2 separate regions of the Homo sapiens genome follow, and region 2 is linked to region 1. Evidence: promoter capture Hi-C in 16 types of primary human blood cells and fetal thymus (Javierre and others, 2016). All regions are on one chromosome and are shown on one strand. Each heading gives the region's core, a stretch centred on a gene start or on the middle of the fragment in contact. The rest is flanking DNA. Distances are from core to core; before and after follow the strand shown. Region 1 holds the start of AKAP10 (A-kinase anchoring protein 10). Region 2 holds the start of B9D1 (B9 domain containing 1).

Evidence for each region. Contacts are between HindIII fragments. The CHiCAGO score rates a contact against its expected background, and 5 or more counts as called.
Region 2: a fragment that was not itself captured here is called in contact with the fragment with the promoter of AKAP10 in region 1 in 1 of 17 cell types (naive CD4 T cells); the score reaches 5.0 in naive CD4 T cells.

The regions. Positions count from the first base shown.
Region 1 is chr17:19,976,531-19,979,230 of GRCh38, forward strand. AKAP10 (A-kinase anchoring protein 10) reads right to left here and starts at 1,298. Exons shown (of 15, transcript NM_007202.4): 1 at 1,062-1,298. The coding sequence starts at 1,149. RefSeq lists a silencer at 1,006-1,195 and an enhancer at 1,668-2,381. The HindIII fragment of the contact is 5,200 bases long and covers 1-2,700 here.
Region 2 is chr17:19,362,035-19,364,734 of GRCh38, forward strand. It overlaps B9D1 (B9 domain containing 1), which reads right to left and starts at 689. Exons shown (of 7, transcript NM_015681.6): 1 at 473-689. The coding sequence starts at 535. It overlaps LOC105371573 (a long non-coding RNA gene), which reads left to right and starts at 743. Exons shown (of 3, transcript XR_934302.4): 1 at 743-1,137; 2 at 1,446-1,476. RefSeq lists enhancers at 149-288, 748-1,532, 1,089-1,158 and a silencer at 329-598. The HindIII fragment of the contact is 3,031 bases long and covers 1-2,700 here.

The DNA.
Region 1 (2,700 bases), core at 48-2,547:
TTTTTTGAGACGGAGTTTCGCTCTTTTTGCCCAGGCTGGAGTGCAATGGTGCTATCTCGGCTCACCGCAACCTCCGCCTCCCAGGTTCAAGCGATTCTCCTGCTTCAGCCTCCCAAGTAGCTGGCATTACAGGCATGCGCCACCACCCTGGCTAATTTTGTATTTTTAGTAGACACGGGGTTTCTCCATGTTGGTCAGGCTGGTCTTGAACTCCCGATCTCAGGTGATCCACCCGCCAAGCCTCCCAAAGTGCTGGGATTACAGGCGTGAGCCACCGCGCCCGGCCTCTGTCTGGTACATTTTATCTGAAGCAACAGGAATTGACAGGAAAAATCACTGCTGTCCACAGACCCATACTTGCTCACTTCGGATATGTATTTTTAATGAAGTGCAACAACGTTACCCAGAATCAAAATTAAGCTGTTTCTACGTAAACATTGGGCAGGTAATACAACTGGAAATCAAAAATGTAAGTAGTTCGTTTGTAAGTTAGGGTTCCAGTAGTTAGCAAACTTGCCAAAGTCATCAAAAGTAGTGGTCTTCCTGTTGGGGAACTTTAGCAATAAGTAATTTTATTTTAGTAACAGCAGTAACTACCCCTCCCCCCAAAGAGGAAATTGGAAGACAGCACTGGGTGAAGAAAACAATTTTTTCACGTGTTGCTTTTAGACATAAAACCCTCAACATTTGGAAACTTCAGACTTCCATAATAAGGTTCTAAAGAGATTTCCTTGATCTTGATCCACGGTCCTCAAAGAAACACAAAAAAACTAACCCCCACCTAAGAACTGTTCTTAACCAAACAGGCAGGAACTTCTATGGGCTTTAGCAATCGCTTCTGAACCAGCGCGACAATACTCCTCTGACCTCGCGCAAGAAGGCCACCTTCTCCCTCCCAGAAGAGTCCCGGAGCAGAGCAAGGCACTCAGGGGGCATCTGCGCCGAGGTCGAGGCTCGCTGAAGGCCTTGCTGCCGCCTTGGGGAAAGCCCTCGCAGGCCCACCTGCCCCACCGCCGCCCCTGAGGCCCGGCCTGACTCCCCGCCGGCGCCCCCTCAGCTACCTTTCCGCCGGAAGAAGGACATGGCGGGGCCCGGGTCGGGACGGAGGGTGCGGGGGGACTGGCGCGGGGAGGGCCCGGCTCCCCTCATTCAGCAACCGGCCCGGACTTCCGGGTCCAGAGGGGCCGCTGCACTAGCGCGAAAAGGGACCCTTCTTCCGGGAGTGGGCCCCACCGCCTCCTCGGGATGCCCAGGCAGCTCCAGCCGCCATATTATCAACAAGCCGCCCGCCCGGAGTTCCGGTCCTTCCCCGCGCTAGGCTTCACGGGAGGTCAAGCGCCGGCCCCGCCCCTTTTCCCCATCCCCCTCCCGCGGGTGCAGGGGCGCACGCCCGCATCGCCCACGTGACCCGCGCGTGCTACCCGCGCCTCTTTCCCGGGCCCTGGGTGCCTGGAGCGAGCCACCGTTCCTGCAGCTGTTTTGTGGCGTCTGTCGCCGGCCCCCGGTGGAGCGCTGCAGACCCAGTCTCTGCAAAACTAACTCCCTGGGGCGGGAGCCCTCCCAGCAGCTGGAACGGGGCGGGCCTTAGGTCCCCGGCTTCCGGCCCCTGGGTACCCTTCAAATTGTGCCCTTCTAAAAGGCAGGGTCAACCCTGCCACGCTCCAGCTCGACCCCTCCTGCTCCTCCGTTTGAGTTTTGCTCACAGGCGCTGGCCGGCACGAGCAGCTTCACCCTGCACCCCAGTCCCTGCTTCCTCAGGAGAACCCGCCACGGCCTGCGGGTTCGAGGCGATGCAGAACCCTGATTAGGAAAAGGCACAACCTGCCGCATGCGGAACCAGCAGCTCCCTGGATCATTAGCGAATGAAAAGGGGAAGCGGGCTTATTTCGGAGTGCAGTCCCTGCGAATGCTCAACTTTGTAAGGGACTGCAACATAAAAGCCTCGCCAGTATTTAAAAGCTAGCTCCAGTGAATCATCCTTGCTCAAATGCCATTTTCCTGTGAATCTTCTGACCCTCTACTCCCAAAGCAAAATCAATCAAGCCTCCCTGTCTTTGGTGCTTCTTAACACCCGGCGAGTGCGCTCAGCGGCTGAGGTTGTAACTGCTCCCTGGGGTTGGGGTTGGGGAGGGCAGGAAGGTAATAGTAACTCAATAAATGTTCGCTGGGGTTTTTAAACCAATGAAGTTTATCATGTGACGGATGGGGAAACAGGCCCAGAAGAGACAACTAGCCCAAGATTGTTCAGAATGTTAGAAATACCAAAATTGTTAGAAATAGATAATCGGTGCCACGAAGAAAAGTCAGCACGGAGACAAAAGATCTCCAGCAAGGCAATCTTTACTTTCTGCAGAAAGGGTGCTCAATCGCAGATGGAACGATGTCGAGAGCACACCTGAACAAAGGAAAAGCAAACATATTTATCCCTTACGCATTTGGGTCGTCCTCACTGCTATGTCCTGCATCCATTGGCTGGAGCGGGACCTCACACTCTTAAACTGATAGCCGATTTGCTAATAGCCTAAAACTTTCTAAATAGGTAAGTGCAAGGAAGAACGAAGAAGGAGAGGAAGTTGCTTACCGAAAGGTTTAAGGAAGCAATAACATTTCCAAATAAGGAAGGGGCATAGGCTGTGAACTGGAACGTGCCTGTGAGCATGTCCAACAGTTACATAGGATAGGGCTTAACAAAGAGTTATT
Region 2 (2,700 bases), core at 27-2,526, 610 kb before region 1:
AGGCACACCTTCCTTGGGTCAATTCCAGGCCACCACCATTGTTGGATGGTTGGATTCGAACCCGAGTTCAAGGATCTGGGGATTCAGAACGCGGGACAGTAACTCCACACGGGACACAGCGCAAATGCTGGAAACTCGGCCAAGCCTCGGCTCCTCGCGTTAACCCCAGGAGGCTCCTGCCAGTGATCCAAGCAAGTGGGCATGACCCGTGCGAGGGCCCACAGGCTTGCCCGAGTGTGACCTCGGTACTAGCTCAACATCTCGAGGTCTGCTTCTATTCCTGCACATCGGGACTCAGGATCCGGGCAACCTCGCGCCAAGCTCTCCAATGCTGGCTCCCCTCCCCCGCCTAACCGAGAGGCTCAGAGGAATGACGTGGCTCTCCGGGGGCCACAGGGCAGCCCGGGGGGTTGCGGGAAGGGCCCCGGGGGACGCTGGGGGGCGGGCCCCGGCGGGGTCCACGGCCGCTCACCTGGGCGCTCTCCACCTGCCCGTTGACCATGAGTAGAAAGACGCTAGGACTCGCGGTCGCCATGGCAGGTCTGGGGGTGCCGGGGGGACCCACCTAGGCCGCGCGCGGTTGCTAAGAGACGCCGGCGTTGCCCTAGAAACAGACGGCGTAGCGCGCAGGACACGTTTCTTGGCAGCGACACCTTCGCGAAGGCCACGCGAGTGCGCGTGTGGCATGCGCAGGCGCAGTGAACGGGCGCCGTTATAAGGGGGCGGGGCACAAGGGGCGGGGATCCACGCCGAGGCTCCACCCCTCCTTAGGGCAGGTATGACCGAGAGCTGGGGCGGGAGCGTTGACCTGTCGGGTAAAGCCAGCCCTACCGCTCGACTCAGTTGCACGCGCAGGGAGTGTGTGTTCACTCTGACTCGGCCCGGCTCCCCGTCCCCGCCGAAGCGCAGAGGCGAATGAGAGCTGAGTCCTGGGGAGCAGCGCTCCGACTCACGCCCTCAGCAAGCCGAGTGTTTAAAATACATTCAGCCACTAGATGTCGCTGTGGCCCCACCGCGAGGACGCGGAGGGAGGCGCTGCAGAGCACGGGCGACGTGACCACAGCTGTCGGGGCTAACTCTGGAATGCCGGGTGCTCGGAGGAGCCTCCCCAGCTGGGGCCAAGCAGCGTCCAAGCAGGTGAAAAGGATGCGCCCCTGTGGCTTGGAGACGCTTGCCCTCGAAAAAGTTTATTAAACAAACTTGGGAGGGACCTCAAGAATCCTTACATCCAAGCCATCGCTCTTTAGTTCGAAGCTGGGGAAACTGAGGCCCGCAGCGGGCGGCGCCTGGCACCCCAATCAGCCAGCGCTCAGGGGAGTTGCTAGCCAAAATCCACGAATCTGTCAAGATACAGTCTTGTATCTTAGTGGCCTGTCACAGAGTAAGCACTTGGTAACTACTAACTTGTTGATAAATGAATAATTGAAGACATCTCCATTTTACAGAGGAGGAAACAGATTCAGATGGCAAAGGCAGGTAAGTAGCTAAGTCAGGATTCAAACCCAGGACTCCAGAGGCTAACAACCCTCACTGCCTCTGTCTTGTCCTGGGCCAGCCCCAACAGCATCTGTTGGCAGAGGTGTCAAAGGAGACGTTGGAGACATTATCTTGGATCCAGGAAATGAAGGGATTCACAGGTGTGTAGACTCCCGGGAGGCCAGGCTCCGAGCAGGGACCCCAGGTCATCACATTCTGCAGCTTCTAGCTTGGGAGCAGACTAGGGGAGTCCCATCAACCATCTGCACGAGGGAGGGAAGGAGCAGTCTCAGCCCAGCCTGCACCCACTGAACCACCCCCTGCCTAGTGAGCAAAGATATTTGATCAGGGGAGGGAGGCAGCGGGTAACCAGTTCACACATCTGACAAGAGCAGCTGGGGGAGGGGATGGGTGGGCTGGTGGCCCAAGTGCTGCACCCAGAGCCCAAGACAGGGCCCATTTCCCCTCCTGGAGAGGGGGTCATACTCCCTTCTTCCCCCGCTCTGTCCATCTCTTTCCAGTTAAAGTGCTTTCTCCCACACATTCTATCAGTCTCACCCAATTATTTCCTCCCTTTGGCCTTTGAGGCTCGGTGTTGCACACAAGTTAGTTTTCAGCAAAATGCTTGTAGTTATCGAATAACTGGGGGCTCCCAGTAGTTTAAGACCTGGCTATACCAAAGGTGGCCCCACATTCAAATAGGACATAATGGGGGAGTCTCCCCAAGGGGTGGGAAGTTCTAGGGTGGCCTTCAGGGGTACAAATAAGCCCGACCCCTGGGTGTTGGGGAATGGAAGACTCCAGGATAGGATGGGAGGGTGACCAGGCCTAACTTTAACAAGTCTAGTGGCATTAGAAGCGACTTTAGGAGAGGGGTCTCAGGGGCTTGCATAGGGGCTTGCATAGGGCCTGCTGGAATCCTTACCACCAGTTCAAGGGCCCAGTGGAGAGCCTGGTGTACTAGAAGTCCTTGGGCAGGCTGTCCTTCAGGTCAGGACAGTCAGGTTGGAGGAGAAGGTAGTTTCTGCAGATGCTGACACACAGCGATCTCAGCAGGACACTCTGCAGCTCTTGGGGTGGGATGTAGGGATCTGCAATGGGGTGGGGCAGACCCTCAGCCCAGCTGACATCCAGCCGATCTGCACCAGTCCAGCCATGCTGGTTGTTAACATATATTGCTGAGCTTCCCTGCCTGTGCCTGTGCCAAGTCTCTCCACCCCCAGA